Regions from separate parts of the Homo sapiens genome. Here region 2 is linked to region 1. The links are contacts of gene promoters, found by promoter capture Hi-C in human tissues and cell types (Jung and others, 2019). All regions are on one chromosome and are shown on one strand. The core of a region is centred on a gene start or on the middle of the fragment in contact, and the rest is flanking DNA. Distances in the headings are between cores, read along the strand shown. Region 1 holds the start of MPV17 (mitochondrial inner membrane protein MPV17). Region 2 overlaps CENPA (centromere protein A).

Region 1 (5,012 bases), core at 1,304-3,803:
GACACACCCCAGTGATGAGAAATAGGCAAACCATGGTCTTGAAATGCCTAGGAGTATAGGCTGGGGTTTGGAGGGAAATAGTTGGATGACCTCAGGAAATAGAAAAAAACAGGCAGCTGCTTTTTGGAGAGAGTGGAGATGAGATCAGTGCCTACCTGGAACAAAACCCTCTGGCATTCTAGACTGGCTGAATATGTAGTGTAGGGACTTTATCATCTGTCAGAAAATCTCCTTTAAGAAGAAGCGATCAAGAAGTTTAGTCCTGGCCAGGTGTGGTGGCTCACGCCTGTAATCCCAACACTTTGGGAGGCCAAGGCAGGCGGATTACTTGAGGTCAGAAGTTCAAGACCAGCCTGGCCAATGTATGGTGAAACCCCGTCTCTACCAAAAATGTAAAAAATTAGCCAGGTGTGATGGCACACACCTGCAATCCCAGCTACTCAGGAGGCTGAGGCAGAAGAATCATTTGAACCTGGGATGCAGAGGTTGCAGTGAGCCGAGATCCTGCCACTGCACTCCAGCCTGGGTGACGGAGCGAGACTCCGTCTCAAAAAGAGTTCAGCCCCTATCCTGTACAGATGAGAAAATAGACCTGGAGGAAACCCAAGTCTATCAACAGCAGAGACCACAACCCATGTCAGTGCAAAGAAGCCAAGTGTTGCACTACCCTATTGGGATCCAGCTCACATTGAGCCAGTTTTGTTTTTTGAGCTGTTACGCAAGTGCCTTCTGTCGAAGAGAAGCTTTACTCAATTCTACAGGGCAGCCCCCTTCCTATTTTCAGTGGTAGAAAAGATGAGACCTGGGGATCCACACTTGAGGCTGTAGATTGGTGCTGGCAGCCCTGCTTCTGCAACTGAGTCTCAGCCCTAGTCTTGACCTTGTTCTTTTTCTCTAACAAGCCTTTTCTCTTTCTAACCCTCCCTCCCAATATACCCACTTCATACTATCCATTGTTCATACACTTCTCTACCTTTATTCCTCTTCTCATATTCCTCCCTTCGCCAGAGTGTCTTTTTCCACCATCTTCACCTGAGTTCAATTCATCCTTCAAGGTCCCGGCTCAAATTCCACCTTCACCAAAGAGCTTCCCAGTTTTCTCCAGTAAAAAATAGTTTCCCTCCCTTGTGTTCCCAAGGGGGAAGGGAGGAAAAAGGATAAACAAGCATTAAGCACTTGATCCATTTTAGGCACTTCGCATGTGTCACTTGTATGAGGTAGGTATTGCCATTTTACTTAATGATAAAAGAGTTGGAGAGGGTAAGCTGTCTGTAAAAGGTCAAGGTCATATAACTAGTAAGTGGTGGTGCTGGGGATTTGAACTCAGTCTAACTTCAGAATATAACTTTACAGCCTACCACATTTGGTCTCCTATTACATTTACTTTTGTCAGTTCACTCCTCTAGCATGCTGTTTTGCAAATAGCATTTTAGTTAAATGTTTGTGACATTGACTTCTCTTGCTTCCTTACTCTGTTTCTCCAGGATTTGTGGCAGGAGTCTCCCTGCCTTAATCATAAAGGAATTGAGTAAATTGGGGGTGGAGCTGGGCAGGTGGAGAGCCTGAAAGAGTGTGCCTCCTGACGTGTGGGCTCCCTGGAGATAAGTAAAGCCTGCCAGCCTGACAAGTCCATTGCCAGGGATATTGTAGACATTTCCAACGCTCTAGAAAGGATATTGCTCTATATTCACAGACTCTTAGAATGTTAGAGCTGGAAGGGGATTAAGAAATCACCTAGCTTACTGGTTTTCAAACATGCAGTTGTGGGCCCCGTTAAAAATGGGTCTTTTGAGAAGTATATACTTGGAAAAAAAAGTTGGAGAAGCAGCTGTAGTAATGCTGCCCCTCTCATCCCCACACACAAACATCTGAAAAATCCCTAGAACTGAGGAGCCGAGTTTGGAAAGTCAATAGTGTAACCTCCCTCATTTTACAGATGCAGAGCCTTAACATCAAGTCTAGTCATGACCAAGGCTGCACAGCCCGTTAGTTTGGGAGCCAATACCTAATGTCTTCTGAGGTTCTAATTCCAATGCTTTCTGTGGAAGAATCATACATACGCAGTATTTCTTAAGTGGCTGTTTGCGGCAAAGCACTGAAATAGTTGCTATGAGGACGACAAATATGAACGACCCCAGTTTTACCCACTCATGAGCTCACAGTTGAGGCCAGTGAAGAACCTAGAGACAAAACACGCACTTAACTATAACTTATAGTTCCCTAACTACGATTGCTGAGACAAGGATCGTAGTTATGGCCAGTTATGCGGGGAGGGTGGGCTGAACAATGAGACTACCGGATTGAGAGAGGCCCGGGTCTCGCGCGGAGAGAAGGGGCAGGAGGAGGCAGAGGGTCGAACTTAGGTGAGAAATATGGCTGGCGGGCCCCACACCAGGGTCCGGCACAGTCCAGCTGGAAAAGGGGTCTCTCACAGAGTGGGTGGCCGAGTTAGGCCGCTCTCCACGGGTATTCATGGCTCGGTCCACCCCCATTCCTGTCCTGGCTGCGTAATCCGAAGGACGCTGGGAGGAAGGGGCGGGACTTGTGGCGGAAGTTCCTAGGCCAGCCTGTCACGTGGGAGGGAGGCTCGGCGCTCAGGTGAGTGGCGGGTGATCTGCGGTCTCTGGCTTAAAGCGTCGCAAGCCATGAGTGCCCACAAGGTGTGTGGTCATCCTATATCCGGGCAGTGACGGGCCCTATTTTCGGTTTGGAGCTGGACTCAGGAAGGTTACAAACTGGTTCCAACCAAGTCTGAATCTGGAGACGGACCAAGCTATCTTTTGAGGCACCCAAGCTCTGGGTAGAAGCCAGAGCAAAGCTGTCCTCATGAGTGTCTCCGTCGGGAACGGAGGCTTCCAGGTGGTCTGGCTTCAGGAATGAGGTTGGGGTGGCTGGTGGCTGCTACCAGGAGTCCATAGCTTCCCACAGCCTTTCTCTCTTCCCCAATTGTCTAAGGCGACTCCTGCGACAGGAAGCTGTCTGGGAAGCATCCTTCATGTGGCCTCTGCCCCTTTAAGTCACATTGGAAGTGGGAAGGGGAAGGGAGTGGGCACAAGGGAATGTCAGGCGGCTTCTTAGTCGTGGAGAGGGACGGTGGGGGTGACCCCCTCTCCTCTTGGCTTGACAGGAAGCATGGCACTCTGGCGGGCATACCAGCGGGCCCTGGCCGCTCACCCGTGGAAAGTACAGGTCCTGACAGCTGGTGAGTGTCCCTCTAGGACTTGAGTGGGACCAGGGCAGACTGATTTGGAAGCCAGAGGCTTGCCCCACTGCACCACCCTCACTTCCTGTTTCTATTCGGCTCTCTTGAAGGGTTGGCTGTCTTTCATCCTACACTGTCCCCAGTCTGTTTTGGAGGGTGGTCCCCAAGGCTGTTTTTAAGGGGTATGCGTAGTTGGCCAAGCTGTGCAGTAGGGTTTTAGGATTTCAAAGTCCTCAAAAAGCTGAACAGTCAGCCCTGAAGGATAAAGGCATTGCCCCAGGAGGCCTCAACTTGGAAAACATTTTACCGTATGCAAAGCACTTTCATATACGTTATGGCATAGGGCCCCCACAAAGGTGTGTGAGCTAGGAGGGTTACTTGAGTCCACATTAGATCACACCTAATAAGTGCTGAATCAAGACTCTTACCCCAGTTTTTCTTGGTATTTTTTATTGTGAAACATACAAAAGAATGATTAAGATGTGTATGTACAGTTTAAATGGCATTAAAACTGAACACTCCTGTGTCAGTAATCAGCTTTGAGACCTCTTGAGTGCCTCTCCGTAATTCACCCAAAATTTCCTGAGTTTTGTTTATATCGTTCATTTGCTTTTGTTATCATTTACTGCCTAAATATGTATCTCCAAGGTTAGTATATTGGTATCTGATCACTCCATCCTGATCCATTTGGAGTGATCAGATACCAGTCACTCCAAATGCAGTGATTGAGTACTAACCTCACAGAGGTAATGCAGTGACCTACCTGCATTTGTTACCATCTTCATTTTGCAAGTTAGCTAATGTAAGAGGATGGCATGAAGATAAGTAAGTCTTAGAGGGGGAATGTCAGAAGGCCTTAGAACATTGGGGTGCAAAGAGTGATCACATTAAGATGAGGTCTTGCCCATGTTTAGAGAAGGGGAACAGGATTCTAGTGATGACTGGCCTTCTGAGAAGAGGACTATTGGAAGGGATTGGGGGCTACTGAAGGCCAGAGTGGAACAGGGATCCTGTGACCAGAACAGCCCTGCATCGGCACAGAAACTTAACTGCATGAATGGCCAGGAGATGGATTCTTTGGCCCTTCCCTGGGCCCCTCTCCAGTCTCCGGTGCCCAACCACCTCTTGTCCTGTCCTCAGCGTCCGTCAGCCTGTATGACTCACCTGGCTACGTGTGTGGTGACTCATGCTGGACAGTGTGGCTATGATGGGAACTGACACGCTGGGCCCTTTGCCCAGGCTCAGATTCCCTCAGGGCCCATAACTGCCAGATGGAAGATTCCCCCTTGTGGTCATCAAGAATAGGGAGGGAAAGAGTCCTTATATTTCCCTACCTGAGGCATCTGCAGCTGACAAGGGCAGGAGCTAGAGCTCCAAGGAGGCCTAGGTGCCGACATGTGGCTGGAGTTCTGGGCTCTTGGTGCTGGAGCCCTTCAGCTCCACAGCCTCAGTCTTCCTGAGGCTATGCTGACGTCCCAGCTCAGCCCTGAAGCAAAATGTAGCCTCCCAGCACTTTTCCCAGACTTTTTCAGACCATCCAGACTTTTCCTTTCCTGCTGTTCACTGTATTTGGATCAAACTACAAATAAAAGGTGGAAGTGGCTTTAGTTCACTGAGCCATTTTTGGACCCCAGCACAGTAGTTCCTAAGGTCCCATGGGATAGCTCATCACACTGGAAAACAGTACAGAGATTTCAGACTTAGAAGACCAGGATTTGAATCTTAAAACCATAGCACCTAGTAGGTGCATTAATCAGGACAAGTCAGTAAGCTTCTTTGAGCCTTAGTTTCCTCTTTTAAAACTTGAGTT
Region 2 (5,653 bases), core at 321-2,820, 530 kb after region 1:
CCCAGCCTGGGCCACACACCCCACCCAGCCTGGGCGACAAGAGCAAAGCTCCGTCTATATAAAAAAACAACAGGATAACAATTATCCTTGGCAGAGTAAGTATTGACTAGAACGGGGCAGGATTCTGAGATGCATTGATTTCAGTTTGTGAAAACTAATTGAGCTGTAAAATTGTAATCTGTATACATTTGTGTTTTTGGTATGTATGTTATACTTTAATTAGAAAATCTTTTAAAAAGAATGGAGCTTTTCAGTTCCTGTAAACAGCATTAAAATAAATCCAAAGAATATAAAATAGAATAAAACTCTAATGCTGCTCAAAGTATATTACTAGGTTGGTGCAAAAGTAATTGCGGTTGTTGCCATTGAAAGTAATGGCAAAAAAAAAAAAAAAAAGTAGGTGCCATCTGGCTTTTAAAAATTTGTAATTGTGACACAGTGCGTCATATGGTATGTAGGGAGAACTCTAACCATGTTTTTCCTCACTCTCACAGCACAACAATCATCCATGCAGAAGATTTCTGTGACCAAACGTTGGAGGTGATTTCCCCATACACCAAGCAGTGGACACCAGCTGGGTGTCCTCTAATTCATTTCTGACACTGTCTACCCAGAGATGGCATCAGATCCCACACGTTGAGGGTTCAGTCCCCAAGACTGCCCACCCACCAAAACCGGTCACAAGTCTGGGCCTCTAGGACTGGCTTCAAGTTGGGGTTCCCATGACCCCCTCTTTGATTAATTTGGTGGAGTGGCTCACAGAGCTCAGGGAAACACATTTACCAGTTTGTTACAAAAAATATTACAAAGGATACAGATGGCTGGGCGCGGTGGCTCACACCTGTAATCCCAGCACTTTGGGAGGCTGAGGCGGATTACCTGAGGTCAGGAGTTCAAGACCAGCCTGGCCAACATGGCGAAACCCCGCCTCTACTAAAAATACAAAAATTAGCCGGGTGTAGTGGCCCACGCCTATAATCCCAGCTACTTGGGAGGCTGAGGCAGGAGAATTGCTTGAACCTGGGAGGCGGAGGTTGCAGTGAGCCAAGATCGCGCCACTGCACTCCAGCCTGGGTGACAGAGTGAGACTCTGTCTAAAAAAAAAAAAAATGAAAAATAAAAAATAAAAAAAATGCATGAAAAACATAAAAAAAGGAAACAGATGAAGAGACACGTGGGGTGAGGTATGGGGAATGCACACAGAGCTTCTAAGCCCTCCGTGGGGGGTGGGGGGTGTGGGGGGCGCCACCCTCCAGGAACCTCCCCGAGTTCAGGTATCGGGAACCTCCCTGAACCGTCCTCAAGGGTTTTTATGGAAGCTTCAGGACCTCCGCATTCTTTCCCCCAGGGTATAGAGGGAACCTCTCTGGGTAGGATCTTAAGACCCACAATCTGAAAGCCTGAGAAAGATTAGAGGCCTGTCTTGGGGCAGGTGAAAGGAGGGCAGGAGAAGGAGAGATTCTGTTTCCTGAGGCCTAACACATACCCAATATTACAACAAAAGAACTAACAACGGCTATAGCAGTTATGAGCCCGGAACTGTGGACGAAAACCAATGTCTATCATAACACCACATGTGGTATAGTAGACATCTGTTATTTTTGTCTGCCCTGTCTACATTCTCTCTTACCTGTTAAGAAGCCTCAAATTTCCTTGGGAAACCACTTGTATTAGTTTCCTATTGCTGCTGTAACAAATTAGCAACAACTCAGTGGCTTAGATAAAACACAAATTTATTCTTACAGTTCTGTAGTTTAGAAGTCTGACACAAGTTTCGCTGGGCTAAAAATCAAGGTATCGGCAGGCCTGTTTTCTTCTCTGGAGTTTCTAAAAGAAAATCCGCTTCCTTGCCTCTTCGCTGCTAGAAGCCACCTAGACTCGTCAGTCTGTGATCTCTCCCTCCATCTTCAATGCCAGCAATGTTGCATCTGCCTGACCATTCTCCTACTCCTATCTCTAACACACTTCTCTCTCACTCTTCCATTTTTAATGGCACTTGTGATTACATTGGGCCCACCCAAAATTCCAAGGTACTCTCCCCATTTTTTGCTTTGTCCTTTTTTTCTTCTAAATCTCCCTATTTTAATGTCAGCTGATTAGCACTCTTAATTCCCCTTTGCCATGTGACATGCCAAATTTACAGGTTCTGAAGGCCTGCCTGAAAGTGACACTAACAGAAGCAGCAAAGGGTGAAGAGAGAGACCAAATCTCATGACTTTGTTACAGCCCTTCGATTTGACTGTAGCGAAACCAGAAATGTCTCTGGGCTTTTCAGTTATATGAACCTTCTCCTCTTAAGTCAGTTTGAGTTGGGGTCCCCAAACTTGCAAATGAGAGTCTTGATTGTTATATATGACAGCATGTGTTATGTTTGATGTTGAATACATTTAAGTTATTTTTGTTTTATTTTAATGGCAATAAGTAATGATGAGTATGGGAATATCAAGAGACACATCAAACTTCAACTTCCAGTAATGGTAGAAAAGGTCATTGGGACCACTCTCCTATCAAAGAAAACTGAAAAAGTTGGAGATCGCACCACTGCACTCCAGCCTCGGTGACAGAGCGAGACTCTGACTCAGAAAAAAAAAAAAAAAAATCCATACTGAAGACACATCAAAATGACATTGCAGAGCCAGCCGGGCATGATACAATGGTCAGAGTTGGGGATCCTGACTTTGCTCAGCGGCAGTGGTACAGTTCAATGCAATGGTGGCAGGGCTATGCTTCCAGCAGAGCAGCAGTGGGGGTGGGCACTGGGAGCTTCCTGATCTTTGGGCAGCATCCTCTTCTCTTTGGCTCAACCAGCCTTCCTGACATTACTATAGTCAACCCCTTCCACCAAATCCCTTTTTGCTTAAAATATCTGGAGTTATTTCTGTTTTTTTTTTTTAAGTGAATGCTGACTGATTGGAATACTATAAAAAAGAAACATTACCAAAATAAGGAGTTAATTGGATATTAAAAACATGAAATCAGAAATAAAAAATTCAATTGAAAGGTTAGAAAAGAATGTTGATGAAATCACCCTGAAAGTAGGGAAAAACAAAATAAAAAAATAAAACAGGGGCGTGGTGGCGAGCATCTATAGTTCAAGATACTTGGGAGGGCGAGGTGGGAGGATTGCTTGAGCCCAGGAGTTTGAGGCTGCAACGAGCTATGATTGCTCCACTGCATTCCAGCCTGGGTGACAGAGCGAGACCCCCCTTTCTCTCAAAAATAAATATGGCCAGGCCTGGTGGCTCACACCTGTAATCCCAGCACTCTGGGAGACTGAGTCAAGCAGATTGCTTGAGTTCAGGAGTTCGAAACCAGCTTAGGCAACACGGCAAAGCCTTGCCCCTACAAAAAATAAAATTAAATTAAAAATTAAAAAAATAATAATAAAAAAATACATAAAACAAAAACCCAGCCAGGCACAGTGGCTCACGCCTGTAATCCCAACACTTTGGGAGGCTGAGGCCCACAGATCACTTGAGGTCAGGAGTTCAAGACCAGCCTGGCCAACATGGTGAAACCCTGTCTCTACAAAAATACAAAAATTAGCCAGGCATGATGGTGGATGCCTGTAATCCCAGCTACTAGGGAGGCTGAGACAGGAGAATCATTTGAACCCAGGAGGCGGAGCTTGCAGTGAGCTGAGATGGCACTACTGCACTCCAGCCTGGGCGACAGACAGAGTCTCGGGAAAAAAAAAATTATTAAACAATAGAACTTGGTGCATCTCTTTAATCTGTCTCTGAACTCAGTTGACTGACACATCATTATTAGTAGTCTGCCCTCACTAATCATTTTCATCACATACAGATCTCATATCTTTGGGTGACACTTCCCATGTCTCTGGAAATCTTTTAAATTGCTTTCAGTTACAACAGAAGGGCAAGGTTTTCATCTAGTCATACTCTACTCCACCAGAGGCAAAACCACCTCCCTTAATTATCTTGTTTAAATTGTGGCTGTTCGCCCCGTCCGGGAGGTGAGGGGTGCCTCTGCCCGGCCGCCCCTACTGGGAAGTGAGGAGCCCCTCTGCCCGGCCAGCCGCCCCCTCCGGGAGGGAGGAGGAGGGGTCAGCCCCCCGCCCGGCCAGCCGCCCCGTCCGGGAGGTGAGGGGCGCCCCTGCCCGGCCACCCCTTCTGGGAAGTGAGGAGCCCCTCTGCCCAGCCACCACCCCATCTGGGAGGTGTACCCAACAGCTCACTGAGAACGGGCCATGATGACAATGGCGGTTTTGTGGAATAGAAAGGGGGGAAAGGTGGGGGAAAGATTGAGAAATCGGATGGTTGCCGTGTCTGTGTAGAAAGAAGTAGACATGGGAAACTTTTCATTTTGTTCTGTACTAAGAAAAATTCTTCTGCCTTGGGATCCTGTTGATCTGTGACCTTACCCCCAACCCTGTGCTCTCTGAAACATGTGCTGTGTCCACTCAGGGTTAAATGGATTAAGGGCGGTGCAAGATGTGCTTTGTTAAACAGATGCTTGAAGGCAGCATGCTCATTAAGAGTCATCACCACTCCCTAATCTCAAGTACCCAGGGACACAAACACTGCGGAAGGCCGCAGGGTCCTCTGCCTCGGAAAACCAGAGACCTTTGTTCACTTGTTTATCTGCTGACCTTCCCTCCACTATTGTCCTATGACCCTGCCAAATCCCCCTCTGCGAGAAACACCCAAGAATGATCAATAAAAAAAAAGACTCCATCTCAAAAAAAAAAAAAAGAAAAAAAAATTGTGGCTGTTTGCAAACAAATAAAGAACTTATTTTTAACACACAAAAAGTACAGTATAATCTCTATGCTGTAACAGTAAGTCCATTTTCATTAAATATTTTGATTTTTATTATCTCTCTACAAAGAAACTACAAAAATACCCATAAAAGCATCGAAAATGTACTTTAAAATTCTGAACTGTTATGATACATCTTCTATGATTTACAAGAGTAAAATGTTAAATTCTCCAAGTTAGAATTTCTGAATTGATTTTGACAGGAATTTACTAGAAGTAACCAGAACATCAAAGCTTACAGGTTTTCTATTCATCCCCAATTAAGTTTCTGAAAAGCTACACATCCGTTGACAAGCACAGTCCACTCAGTTACATGATGCTGCCACTAATGGTGAGGCTACTCTGAAGGGCAGAGGTCTATATGATGGAAATGCCCAGCCTTCCAGGCAACTGCTCAAAGTGGTCTTATTTTTTCCCTTATGTGTAAAATAAAAGTACAAATGTACATATGGTAAAAAATGTAAATATTACAGAAAGAGCTAAAATAATAAGTACATAGCCTTTTCTCCCATACCACAGCAAATCTGATGTTTTCAAAATCCTCAAATAGTCACATGAGTAACTCACAAACTAAAGTCAACCTTGGAGTCTCTTTATCTGAAAATTATTTTCAGGCCTTTGGAACGGTGTTGATTGTCTCATATATTACCTCTGTTACAGAGGAAAGTCATGCAGTCTTCTCCTTCTCAAAAAAAAGAAAAATATTTAAAGCAACACACACATACTGTTCAGAGACAGCAAAGTCCAGACAGCATCGCAGAATCCATTGGATCTAGTCATGGCTCTGGAGAGTCCCCGGTATCATCCCTGAAATTAAGGAAGCACACTTACTAACAAGCCATTTTCAAAAGTAAGAAAACTTTCTCTTAATC

Evidence for each region. The method cuts DNA at HindIII sites, captures the fragments that hold promoters and counts their contacts. A contact is called where the count stands out against the background at its distance.
Region 2: a contact is called between a fragment that was not itself captured here and the fragment with the promoter of MPV17 in region 1, in 1 of the 25 tissues and cell types used here (hippocampus).

Annotation. Positions count from the first base shown.
Region 1 is chr2:27,320,638-27,325,649 of GRCh38, reverse strand. It overlaps MPV17 (mitochondrial inner membrane protein MPV17), which reads left to right and starts at 2,553. Exons shown (of 8, transcript NM_002437.5): 1 at 2,553-2,598; 2 at 3,128-3,202. The coding sequence starts at 3,133. RefSeq lists enhancers at 1,744-2,716, 2,839-2,898, 2,949-2,998, 3,009-3,098, 3,109-3,158 and 3 more. The HindIII fragment of the contact is 20,851 bases long and covers 1-2,858 here.
Region 2 is chr2:26,793,747-26,799,399 of GRCh38, reverse strand. CENPA (centromere protein A) reads right to left here. Exons shown (of 5, transcript NM_001809.4): 5 at 4,811-5,588. Among named protein-coding and RNA genes, the nearest start is that of CENPA, 11 kb to the right of the region's middle. RefSeq lists a silencer at 4,493-4,693. The HindIII fragment of the contact is 9,087 bases long and covers 1-5,653 here.